Linked DNA regions of Homo sapiens: region 2 is linked to region 1. The links are contacts of gene promoters, found by promoter capture Hi-C in human tissues and cell types (Jung and others, 2019). All regions are on one chromosome and are shown on one strand. The core of a region is centred on a gene start or on the middle of the fragment in contact, and the rest is flanking DNA. Distances in the headings are between cores, read along the strand shown.

Region 1 (6,432 bases), core at 3,669-6,168:
GCAAGAATGGAAGCAGGAACAGAGCACAGTAGTCCAGGTGAGAAACTTGAACTGGAGTGCTAAAGGAAGAGAGAGAGAGTAGTTTTATGTAGGATAAATTTTACGAGTAAAACCAGTAGGACTGACAGGCTCTGTGATACTGAGAGATACATATTTGGTCTCCTGACCAGGCTCCTGGCATTCAACTTCTAAAATCCTTGGAATCTCCAGTGATGTGTGTTTTTGTGTGCTGATGAGTTGATTCATGGCTAGCCCCTCTAGGTGGCTTCATGATTAGAGGGTTGGAACTTTCAGCCTCACCCCCACCAACTTCCTGGGAGGGGAATGGGGCCAAAGGTTAAGGCAATCACTGAGGATCAGTGATTTAATCAGTCATGCCTAGTAGTGAAGCCTCTAAAAACCGGAAAGGGGCCGGGTGCGGCGGCTCACGCCTGTACTCCCGGCACTTTGGGAGGCTGAGGCAGATGGATCGCAAGGTCAAGAGATTGAGACCAGCCTGGCCGACCTGGCGAAACCCTGTCTCTACTAAAAATATGAAAATTAGCTGGGCGTGGTGGCGTGCGCCTGTAGTCCCCGGGAGGCTGAGGCAGGAGAATCGCTTGAACCCGGGAGGCAGAGGTTGCAGTGAGCCGAGATTGTGCCACTGCACTCCACCCTGGGTGACAGAGTGAAACTCTGTCTCAAAAAAGAAAAAAAAACCCGAGAGGAGGAGTTTGGAGACATTCTAGATAGCTGAAGGCATGGAGGCTCCCACAGGATGGTCTCCAGGCCTCTTCCCGGTACCTTTCCCTGTGCATCTTTTCATCTGTACTCTTTGTACTACCCTTTGTTAATAAACTGGTAAATGTGTTTCCATGAGTTCTGTGAGCTGCTCTAGCAAATTAATCAAATTCAAGGAGGGGGTCATGGGAACGCTGATCTAACCAGTTGGTGAGAAACACAGATAAAACAACCTGGGGCTTAGGACTGGCATCAGAATTGGGGGCAGCCTTGTGAGACTGAGCCCTAAACCTGTGACACATTATCTCCAGGTAGATAGTGTTGGAATTGAATTGGGGGATACCCAGCTGTGTCCACCGCAAAATTGCTTGCTTGGTTGTTGGTGGAGAGAAAGCCCCACAAACACTTCTTGGTGACCACAGGTTACAGAAGTATTTTGTGTTGTGAGAGTATAGTAGGAAAGAAGATTTGTTTTTTTGCCGGGCGCGGTGGCTCACGCCTGTAATCCCAGCCCTTTGGGAGGCTGAGGCGGGCGGATCACCAGGTCAGGAGATCAAGACCATCCTGGCTAACACAGTGAAACCCTGTCTCTACTAAAAATACAAAAAATTAGCCGGGCGAGGTGGCACGTGTCTGTAGTCCAAGCTACTTGGGAGGCTGAGGCAGGAGAATGGCATGAACCCAGGAGGTGGAGCTTGCAGTGAGGCAAGATCACGCCACTGCACTCCAGTCTGGGCAACAGAGCAAGACTCCGTCTCAAAAAAAAAAAAAAGATTTGTTTTTTCCTCCGCAGGTTGGATGTGGGAAATGAAGAAAAAGAAATGGAGGATGATGCCTAGGTTTTTGGCCTATGTAACGGGAAAAGTGGGAGAGGAACAGGTTGGGGGAGGAAAATGAAGAGTTCTTTTCTCTTCTGGTTTCCCTGCCCTCCCATTCAAAGGCCAGGAAATTTCTACAGCTAGGCAGGATGATTGGCTCCGGCATTCCTTAATTTCAGTCCTCAAAATCAAGAGCTTACACCCTCAGGGATCTTCTTGCAGTAGAGGGAAGGGTGGTGACGTACAGTGAAAAACATGTTGGCCTTCTTCATACTGAGTTTGAGTCCCACTTCTGCCATTTCTTTCTTTCATGACCTTGTGCAAGTCACGACTTTCCAAGCTGCAATTTCCTCATCTGTTAGGTTGAATGTTGAGAACTTCCCGGTAGGATTGTTATGAGCATTAACTGCGTGTTTACTTTGTGCTGTGTCTTGTTCTAAGTGTATTATGGATAGTCACTAGTTTAATCCTCATATCAAATGGATGAGGTGTAGGTACTACTATTTACACTCTCTGACAGATAAGGAAACTGAGGTATAGAAGGTTATTAAGTAGGTTGCCCACTGTCATAAGCCAGTAAATGGAGGAGCTGTATTTGAATTCTGGCAGGCTCCAGAATCCTGGGCCTGGGTTCTTAGCTGCTAAGTGCTTCTCCCTTTAAAGTGTGAAAAGCGCCTGCCCATCATGGGTTCTCCAGTGTTCGTTCTGATGTCTCCTCCATTGTCTGACCTTCCTCCCTTACCCCGAAGAACCGAAACATGCAGATCCTGAGCTTGCCCACAATCTAGGCCTTGGGTCTTCTGTTCTTTCACTTGGTTCCCTTACCTGTGTCTCTGTTCCTCTCTAGAACCTTCATGGCAAAAGGCAAGACTTCTGTTTGTTGTACCTGACCTGTGGCACTATCTCTTTAGGTGGACATCTTCAATAAGGAGCTACTGCTAATCCCCATCCACCTGGAGGTGCATTGGTCCCTCATCTCTGTTGATGTGAGGCGACGCACCATCACCTATTTTGACTCGCAGCGTACCCTAAACCGCCGCTGCCCTAAGGTTTGAGGGGGTAGGAGAGAGATGGGCAAAATGTGGGGCGGTGCAGTGGCAAGGCATTGCAGGAAGAAGGGTGGGCTTTGGGTCTTTGAGGGGCGACCTGGGCATGGTGTCTGCCAGCACTGTACCCACCATACTGTGTTCAATTGAGAAACTTAGGGCATCACTTTCTTTTCCCCCATCCACATAGCATATTGCCAAGTATCTACAGGCAGAGGCGGTAAAGAAAGACCGACTGGATTTCCACCAGGGCTGGAAAGGTTACTTCAAAATGGTGAGTTTCCTGAGGGAGGGGTATAGGGTGTTGGTGGGGACAGTGGTAGAAGGCAGAAATTGAAGTCCTACCCCTGGGAGTCTCCATGTGAAGGGCCTGCTTTCTTTCTCTTCTCTAGAATGTGGCCAGGCAGAATAATGACAGTGACTGTGGTGCTTTTGTGTTGCAGGTAAGCAGATGATGGGGCCACCTCCCCTAGCTCTGAAGTCAGTTGGGTTAAAGGGTCGGGAGGCTGTTATGCATCCCCTCATTTGGCTCATAGTCAGTTGTGGAGCAGGAAGTAATCTGTTTTAGAACACCAAAACACTGGCTTCACTGGTTCTCTTCTGGACTTCTCCATCCCACATTGGGACTGGGTCTCTAGTCTTGGGCCTCTGGCCTTCATAGAGCTCCCTGCTAACCTCCAACTCAGTGTATTTTCTCCATCTAAAACATTCTATCAAGTAAGAACACTAGCTTTAGAGTCAGGCTGTTTTTGAACCCCAGGCTGTGGGACCCTGGCTCCCTTTGGGGATGTTCTCTGAAGGATGGAGACACATCTCATATGAAATGTGTAGCACAGGTCCTGACACGGGGGGTTTCTCATGGCTTGCTTTGTTAACACCCAGTACTGCAAGCATCTGGCCCTGTCTCAGCCATTCAGCTTCACCCAGCAGGACATGCCCAAACTTCGTCGGCAGATCTACAAGGAGCTGTGTCACTGCAAACTCACTGTGTGAGCCTCGTACCCCAGACCCCAAGCCCATAAATGGGAAGGGAGACATGGGAGTCCCTTCCCAAGAAACTCCAGTTCCTTTCCTCTCTTGCCTCTTCCCACTCACTTCCCTTTGGTTTTTCATATTTAAATGTTTCAATTTCTGTATTTTTTTTTCTTTGAGAGAATACTTGTTGATTTCTGATGTGCAGGGGGTGGCTACAGAAAAGCCCCTTTCTTCCTCTGTTTGCAGGGGAGTGTGGCCCTGTGGCCTGGGTGGAGCAGTCATCCTCCCCCTTCCCCGTGCAGGGAGCAGGAAATCAGTGCTGGGGGTGGTGGGCGGACAATAGGATCACTGCCTGCCAGATCTTCAAACTTTTATATATATATATATATATATATATATATATATATATATATATATATATATATATATATATATATATATATAAAAATATATAAATGCCACGGTCCTGCTCTGGTCAATAAAGGATCCTTTGTTGATACGTAAGTGGTGGTCTTCCTTAAGGGGCTTCAAATTAGTGGATATGCTTAGCTCAGACCTTCCAGCCAGTCTCTTGAGACTAAAGGGTTCAGCTTTCCATCCCTGGCTCAGGCACTGCCAACACCTTGTCTTCACCCAAACAAATCCCCGAGATGGGAGCAGAGAGCAGGAAGGAGGGAAAGTAGATAAGCCTCAAGAATAAGGGCATCCGAGAGGGAAGCTGGGGAACTGGACACAAGGGACTGGGGAGGGGACCAACCAGGATTCATGATAGTACCCCAAAGCCCTTTACAGTTTTCTTCCATCCCTCCACCATCCAGCCAGGGGAATCCTCCCATCCCTACGATATCGCTGTTGATTCCTTCATCCCTGGCACACGTCCAGGCAGTGTCGAATCCATCTCTGCTACAGGGGAAAACAAATAACATTTGAGTCCAGTGGAGACCGGGAGCAGAAGTAAAGGGAAGTGATAACCCCCAGAGCCCGGAAGCCTCTGGAGGCTGAGACCTCGCCCCCCTTGCGTGATAGGGCCTACGGAGCCACATGACCAAGGCACTGTCGCCTCCGCACGTGTGAGAGTGCAGGGCCCCAAGATGGCTGCCAGGCCTCGAGGCCTGACTCTTCTATGTCACTTCCGTACCGGCGAGAAAGGCGGGCCCTCCAGCCAATGAGGCTGCGGGGCGGGCCTTCACCTTGATAGGCACTCGAGTTATCCAATGGTGCCTGCGGGCCGGAGCGACTAGGAACTAACGTCATGCCGAGTTGCTGAGCGCCGGCAGGCGGGGCCGGGGCGGCCAAACCAATGCGATGGCCGGGGCGGAGTCGGGCGCTCTATAAGTTGTCGATAGGCGGGCACTCCGCCCTAGTTTCTAAGGATCATGTCTGCGAGCCAGGATTCCCGGTAAGAAAGGCATTTGCAAGAGATTGTGGCTGCTTATTTTGCCGCCCCCTTCCGACGGGCCCGCCGGGGGTAGCTGAGAGGCCCACCAGGGTTGCGGGAGAAACCGAACCGGGTGGGGGGAGGGTCCGACTTGGAGGGGCGAGGGGGAAGACCCACGGCCGACGCGGCCACCAGGTCGAGGCGGAGGGTAGGGACAGCCCGGCTAGGGTCAGGCGTGCGAGGTCTGTTACGAGGCCTCGACCCGAGGCGGTGCCATGCGCGAAGCCCCGGCGCTGAGTGGCGAGACGGGGTCGCGACCTGGCGTGGGAAAGAAAGGTGGAGGCGGCCGCCACTATGTGTGGCCCAGAGCCGGCAGGTCCGGTTGCCTCCCTGTGCCGGGGGAGGGACGGCGCGCGGGGTTCCGGAGCATTCTGACGGTACCACTCGCGAGAGGCGGGGGTGCCTGGTCCTTAGATCCAGTCACTTCGTCGCGGCTAAAACACGGGTCGGGGAGAAGAAACCGGCCGTTCAGTGTGCTGGTTTTCTTGACGGCCAGGACTGAGCCTAACCCCGAGGAGCGGCCGCGTGAGGCACCAGGAGCCCACCCGGCGCCGGGCGGGCGGGTCCATTTTGCCGCACAAGCCGGGCTATTGGCAAACTGCGGATGGGCAGGTCCACCTTCCTTCGGGGGTGAGCGGCCTGAGGTATGGGAGGGCGACGCTACTTCGCGACGGGGGCGGGCGGGATGTGGATTGTTCATGGAGGGGTGGGAGACGCCGCCGGGTGGTCGAGGGAGCGAGCACATGGTGGCCTGAGGCGTTCCCCTCCCCCAGTCTGCTTCGCTTCTAAGTGTTGTGCAATCTCCCCCTTTGCTAGCTCGGCTTGGGCTCATTGTGCGCGAGGCCGCCACCGCCCGCGGCCTCCCACATCCGGGCAACGCGAGGGGGGGGCTTCGGCTGGAGGGAGTGGGGGAGGGCGCGGGCGGGATGACGTGGGGGGAAGGGGATGTCCTACCCTCCGATCTGGGAGGTGAAGGGCGGGACTTCCAGCGCGCTGGTGCTGCGGTGGGAGGTGCACGCGCTTGGGCTTTAAGCGGCTGGGTCGGGCCCACGTGGACCCGGCGGCAAGCACCACCTCTGGGCACCGTGAGCGCGGCGGCACGCCTGCCGGCCTGTCTTCAGAAAGGGTCACCCCCTTATGTCGGGGGTGGCCTGGCCTGAGCCGCTGCCTGCATGGGGCAAATGCCTCAGTTTTATAGAAACTCCTCCTTTGGGTATTTTTTGGGAGCTGGTGGGAGTTGGATCTGGGACAGCAGATTGATGGCATCATGCAGGCCACTCCTGACAGAGCCCGGCTGTCAGGATTTCTGAGTGCTTCGGTCGGGCAGGGGACAAAACTTATGCTTTAAACCAACAGATCCAGAGACAATGGCCCCGATGGGATGGAGCCCGAAGGCGTCATCGAGGTGAGACTGGAGAAATGGAATTCTGTCCTC
Region 2 (5,765 bases), core at 3,199-5,698, 78 kb after region 1:
CCCCCAAACATTCATGGAGCTGAATGCCATCGCTGTCTTGAAATTCTTCATAGTTCTATCTTTGAATTTGTGCTTTGTAAGTAACATCCAGTGGAGCACTGGCGCATGCGTGTGAGCAGAGGAGATACGTCCCATTCACACAGCGTTCCAGATGCAACATGGACACAGAATTCTGGGGAACCTACAACGTGTGGGAGTTCAGCCAGACTCCAGATGAGTATAAGGTAAGCACATTATGTCTGCAACTGAATATGTGAGGCTGAGCCCGGCCAGCTGCTGAATTGGACGTGAACATGGAAAAGCTCCCTCTGCAAGGAACCTCAACAACAATGGCTCCTGCCTGTAATTCCAGCACTTTGAGTGACCCAGGCGGGAGGATCCCTTGAGCCCAGGAGTTCAACACAAGCCTTGGCAATATGGCGAGACCCCATCTCTATGAAAAACTTCTTTAAAAATTAGCCAGGCATTTTAGCCAGGTGGACTAGTAGACAGGCATTTAGCCCGGTGAGACTAGTAGCCACTGGGCTACTCCCAGCTACTTAGGAGGCTGAGCTGGGAGGATTGGATCACCATGATCACGCCACTGCACTCCAGCCTAGGTGACAGAATAAGAGACTATCTCAAAAAAAAAAAAAAAAAAAAAGAGTAAGTGGGAGTGCTGACAGCTGAGAGACCACACTCTCCACTGGAAGCAGAACTTGGCTATGAACGTGGAAAGGAAGCAATGGCATTGTAGGAGGCATGGATGATCACCATACCTTACCAGATCTTTTCTTAGTCATGTCCCTGTTTTGGCCACTTACGCTGGCAACAATGACATAGAAGGAAAGGGAAGGCTGAGGCAACCCATAGTTCCTTTTCCTTTCAGTCCTTCCTTCCTTATCAGGAAGCTGAAGATAGAAAAATGTTAGGCGGGGCTCACACCTGCAATCCTAGCACTTTGGGAGGCCAAGATGGCAGGATTGCTTGAGGCCAGGAGTTTGAGACCAGCCTCGTCAACACAGAGACCTCCATCTTTGTTTTTTAAGAGACCCCCCATCTCTAAAAAAGAAAGAGAAAGAGACCGGGTGCGGTGGCTCACGCCTGTAATCCCAGCATTTTGGGAGGCCGAGGTGGGCGGATCACGAGGTCAGGAGTTCCAGACCAGACTGACCAACATGGTGAAATCCCATCTCTACTAAAAATACAAAAATTAGCCAGGCGTGGTTGTGCACGCCTGTAATCCCAGCTACTCAGGAGGCTGAGGCAGGAGAATCGCTTGAACCCGGGAGGTGGAAGTTGCAGCGAGCCAAGATCGCGCCATTGCACTCCAGCCTGGGCGACAGAGTGAGACTCCGTCTCAAAAAAAGAAAAAAAAAACATGTAAACATTAAATAGCAAAGAAAAAAACACCATGAGAAAGCCAGGTGTGGTGATGTGTGCCTGCAGCCCCAACTACCTGGAGGCTGAGACTGGAAGGTCGTTCATGGACATGCTGGGTACGGTGGCTCACACTTGTGATTTCAGCACTTTGGGAGGCTGATGTGGGTGGATCCCTTGAGTCCAGGAGTCCAGGAGTTCCACACCAGCCTGGCCAACACGGCAAAACCCTGTCTCTAGTAAAAATACAAAAATTAGCCGGGCATGGTGGCCTGTGCCTGTAATCCCAGCTACTCAAGAGGCTGAGACAGAAGAATTGCTTGAACCTGGGAAGTGGAGGTTGCAGTGAGCCAAGATCGCGTCACTGCACTCCAGTCTGGGTGACATAGCAAGACCCTGTCTCTAAAACAAAAAACCATGAGAAGCTGAAAGAACTATGGATGAAAGGAAAATAGTTTAGGCTGGGTGCGGTTGTTCACACCTGTAATCCCAGCACTTTGCGAGGCCAAGGTAGGTGGATCATTTGAGGTCAGGAACTCAAAACTAGCCTGGCCAACATGGTGAAATCCCATCTCTACAAAAAAATACAGAAATTAGCCGGGCGTGGTGGTAGTCCCAGCTACCCGGGAGACTGAGGGAGGAACCGCTTGAACCCTGGAGGCAGAGGCTGCAGTGAGCAGATATCATGCCACTGCACTCCAGCCTGGGTGACACAGTGAGACTCTGTCTCCAAAAAAAAAAAAAAAAAAAAAAAAAAAAAAAGTTTATATTTTAGTGCCTCTAAGGGCATTTTTTCCCCTAGGTTTTGAACAAGGGTCCCTGCATTTCCATTTTGCACTGGATCCTGACAATTATGCAGCTGGCCATGCTTCAGTCTATTCTGCAGCAGATTCGGGATTAATTTTCTCAAAATACAGCTTTAATTAGGCCACTCCTCAGCTGAAAGTTCTTCAGTGGCTTCTTATTAGCCTGTAGGATAGAGTCCTGATTCTTCAGTCTAACCTGCAGGGTACTCCGCAATCCACACCCATGCTGTGTCCCCAACCTCCTTTCCCACTAGTCTCCGACTAGTTCTCTCCTGGAGCCAAGCCAGCCACTCCTGGGGTAGACTGTGCTTACTCCTGACTTCACACCTCTGTGCCTTTCATTCCTTTGTCCTGGAAGACTACCTACCCTTCAGAGGCCAGCCCCAACTCCCATTCATTCATTCATTCATTCAATGCATACCATTTTTTTGAGATGGAGTTTTGCTCTTGTCCAGGCTGGAGTGCAGTGACACAATCTCGGCTCACTGCAACCTCCACCTTCCAGGTTCAAGCAATTCTCTTGCCTCAGCCTCCTGAGTAGCTGGGATTACAGGCTCCCACCACCGCACCCGGCTAATTTTTTTAGTTTTAGTAGAGACGCAGTTTCACCATGTTGGCCAGGCTGGTCTTGAACTCCTGACCTCTGGTCTCGAACTCCCTTGCTCAGGTGATCCATTGGCCTCGGCCTCCTATAGAGCTGGGATTACAGGCATGAGCCACTGGGCCTGGCCGAGATAATGATTTTTTTTTTCTCTCTTTTTTTGAGACGAAGTCTCACTCTATTGCCCAAGCTGGAGTGCAATGGCGTGATCTCAGCTCACTGCAAGCTCCGCCTCCCGGGTTCAAGCAATTCTCCTGCTTCAGCCTCCTGAGTAGCTGGGACTACAGGCACCCACCACCATGCCCAGCTAATTTTTTTTTTTTTTTTTATTGAGACGGAAGCTCTGTTGCCCAGGCTGGAGTGCAGTGGAGCGATCTCGGCTCACTGCAAGCTCCGCCTCCCGGGTTCATGCCATTCTCCTGCCTCAGCCTCCCAAGTAGCTGGGACTACAAGCTCCCGCCACGACGCCCAGCTAATTTTTTTTTTTTGTATTTTTAGTAGGGACGGGGTTTCACTGTGTTATCCAGGATGGTCTCGATCTCCTGACCTCGTGATCCACCCACCTCGGCCTCCCAAAGTGCTGGGATTACTGGCGTGAGCCACCGCGCCTGGCCTAATTTTGCATTTTTAAGTAGAGACGGGGTTTCACCATGTGGGCAAGGCTAGTCTCGAACTCCTGACTTCGTGATCTGCCCGCCTCGGCCTCCCAAAATGCTGGGATTACAGGCATAAGCCACCGTGCCCGGCTTGAGATAATGATTCTTAACATGTGGTATGTAGAGCAAGTGTACTCCCGCCCTAGACTGTGAGCCCCGTGAGAGATGTGGCTTCAGTGTAACCTCTCTGGCCTCCCCAGGGCTACAGCACACAGTCTATAGAGGTGCTCAATAAATGTTTGTTGACCCAAGTAGACACATAAGGAGGTGAGTTCCGACGTGGGGGTGGGGGTGCCAGGAGGCAGAGAACCGAAGTAGACCTGGCTGCAGGGCTGGGATCTCAGGGCAGTGCTGGGGACTGGGAATGTGGTGTTGAGAGGGCTTCAGGGAGACGTGATGGGAAGATGGGGAAGCCTCTGCACGTGGACAGAGCCAGGTGGTGTGGACAGGGGCTGTGAGATTGGAGAAGGAGGCGTCTGGGGGACTGGTAGCGGCTCCCAACAGGGGAACGTCCCTCTGGGGGTGGCCTTTATCCATCTCTGCGGGGCCTGTCCTAGCTTCCCTCCTGGCTCGGCCAGCCTCCCGGCTGGTCTCTTCGCTCTCTTTCTTGATCTCTAGCTCTTTATTCCTCTGACATTCTGCCCCATCTGCTCCCGGACTCTTCCGCCGCATCTGTATCTTAGTCTCTTTCTAACTCCCTGCCTGGGGCCCCCACCTTTGAGCATATATCGGCTTCTCTCTCTGCCGTTGTGTTTCTCTGGGGTTATCTTTCCCTCTACTCCGCCCGGACACGCCCTCTATCTCTTCCTCCCACCCTGTCCCAGTCTAGTACCTGGGGTGGGGGTAATGGAGAGACAGCTAGGTCCCTAAGAGAAGTCAGGGGGGCGGGCCCAACCTCTCCATATTTACATATGTATGAGGTCGCCTGGGCCAGTGGCGAGGAGGCGGAGCTTCTGGGGGTGGGAAGGGGGCGGGCACCCCCAGAGCCGCAGAGTATAAAGACCGCGCTCGGCGACCGCGGGCCTCGCACTGCTGAGGAGCGGAGCCTCCGCCTGGGGGGCCCCCCATCCCTGGCTGTCCCCCAGCTGCGCGTCCCCGCCCCACCCCCGCGGCTGAGCCACCACCGGTGCAGTGGTCTCCGCTTGGCGGAGCGAGCCTTGAGCTTCGTTCCACAGCTTCTTTGCATCTTGGATTTCGGGGCGGCCCCCTCCCCCACCTCTCTCTGCCTTTTTGTACCCCGCTTTTTTTCTGCGTTCTGCTCGGTTTTTGTAGCCGTCTGTTTTTGCACCCCATTTCGTTTTGTTTCTAGACGGTTTGGTGGGGGGTGAAGCTGCATTCATACCCCTTCCTCTTGTTATTCTCCCCTGCTCTGACAGCACCCCTTTTCATCGCAGTTGGGGGGCCTAGGATCGGTGCATCTTCCGCCGCGCTGCCAGCACCCCGCAGCGCGTGGTCGTGCACCCCGGAATCTGCAGCAGCTGCATATCTGAGGGGGGTCTCCTTTGCCCGCGCCGCCTTCGCTCCCCGTGCTTTTGGGTGTGTGGAGGGCTTCAGCGCGCGGCGCCCCCGCTTCTCCGCAACCCCCCGCCCCGCGCCCGGACTCGCCCCGCGCCACCAAGATGGTCATCCAGAAAGAGAAGAAGAGCTGCGGGCAGGTGGTTGAGGAGTGGAAGGAGTTCGTGTGGAACCCGAGGACGCACCAGTTTATGGGCCGCACCGGGACCAGCTGGGGTACGCAGGGCCGGCACGCAAGGGGCGGGGGAAAGCCGCGGGGCGACGCCTCGGGGGCGCAGGGTCCCGCCGACGCGGCCCCAGCTCCCCTCCCGGGTCCCCGGCGTCCAGCCTCCCTGCCGGGCTCTGGGCTGGGAGGGGGCCGAATCGCCAGTCTAATCTCCCCGGCTGGCCGTGCGGAGGCGGAGAAAGTAGGTCACAGCCGCCTTCCCGCCCCCCGCGGAGCCCCCTCGGGCGGGGGGTCGCCAGCTCCGCCTGCGTGTCCGCGCCGGCGCTCACACTCCCTCTCGGGGCCTGTCCGCTCCACACGGGCGTCCCCCACCTCCAAAGAGCGCCCCTTCCCTCCCTCCGGCTCTCACTAGCTCCGCAGCCCCGTCTATTTTTAGCTCGTGCCCACCCCCTGGACCCTGGGAACGTTCATGAGGGGGCGGGTCTTGGGGGGTGTGTTAGGGGGGTTCTTCACGGCGGAAGTTGTCTGTATCCCACCGCCTGGCCTTGGGAGCCTTCTGGGACTGCTTTGTGGGTTGGGGGGCTGCTGATAGTATGAGTTTTACCGAGGCTGCAGGTTTTGCTCCCATGTCGGTGACGGAGGGAGGAGTGGTCGCTGTGGTG

What was found. Contacts are between HindIII fragments. The study calls those that stand out against the background at their distance.
Region 2: the fragment with the promoter of ATP1B2 here is called in contact with the fragment with the promoter of EIF4A1 in region 1 in 2 of the 25 tissues and cell types used here (liver and ovary).

Annotation. Positions count from the first base shown.
Region 1 is chr17:7,567,907-7,574,338 of GRCh38, forward strand. EIF4A1 (eukaryotic translation initiation factor 4A1) reads left to right here and starts at 4,919. Exons shown (of 11, transcript NM_001416.4): 1 at 4,919-4,958; 2 at 6,354-6,402. The coding sequence starts at 4,936. SENP3 (SUMO specific peptidase 3) reads left to right here. Exons shown (of 11, transcript NM_015670.6): 8 at 2,450-2,587; 9 at 2,775-2,858; 10 at 2,977-3,027; 11 at 3,467-4,063. The coding sequence ends at 3,577. It overlaps SENP3-EIF4A1 (SENP3-EIF4A1 readthrough (NMD candidate)), which reads left to right. Exons shown (of 22, transcript NR_037926.1): 8 at 2,450-2,587; 9 at 2,775-2,858; 10 at 2,977-3,027; 11 at 3,467-3,573; 12 at 4,378-4,958; 13 at 6,354-6,402. RefSeq lists enhancers at 4,257-4,316, 4,347-4,396, 4,417-4,476, 4,597-4,666, 5,173-5,928 and 2 more and silencers at 4,837-4,896, 4,907-4,966, 5,867-6,006. The HindIII fragment of the contact is 10,064 bases long and covers 1,116-6,432 here.
Region 2 is chr17:7,646,478-7,652,242 of GRCh38, forward strand. ATP1B2 (ATPase Na+/K+ transporting subunit beta 2) reads left to right here and starts at 4,449. Exons shown (of 7, transcript NM_001678.5): 1 at 4,449-5,153. The coding sequence starts at 5,042. RefSeq lists silencers at 1,403-1,612, 4,359-4,508 and enhancers at 3,101-3,601, 3,602-4,102, 4,377-5,019. The HindIII fragment of the contact is 20,754 bases long and covers 1-5,765 here.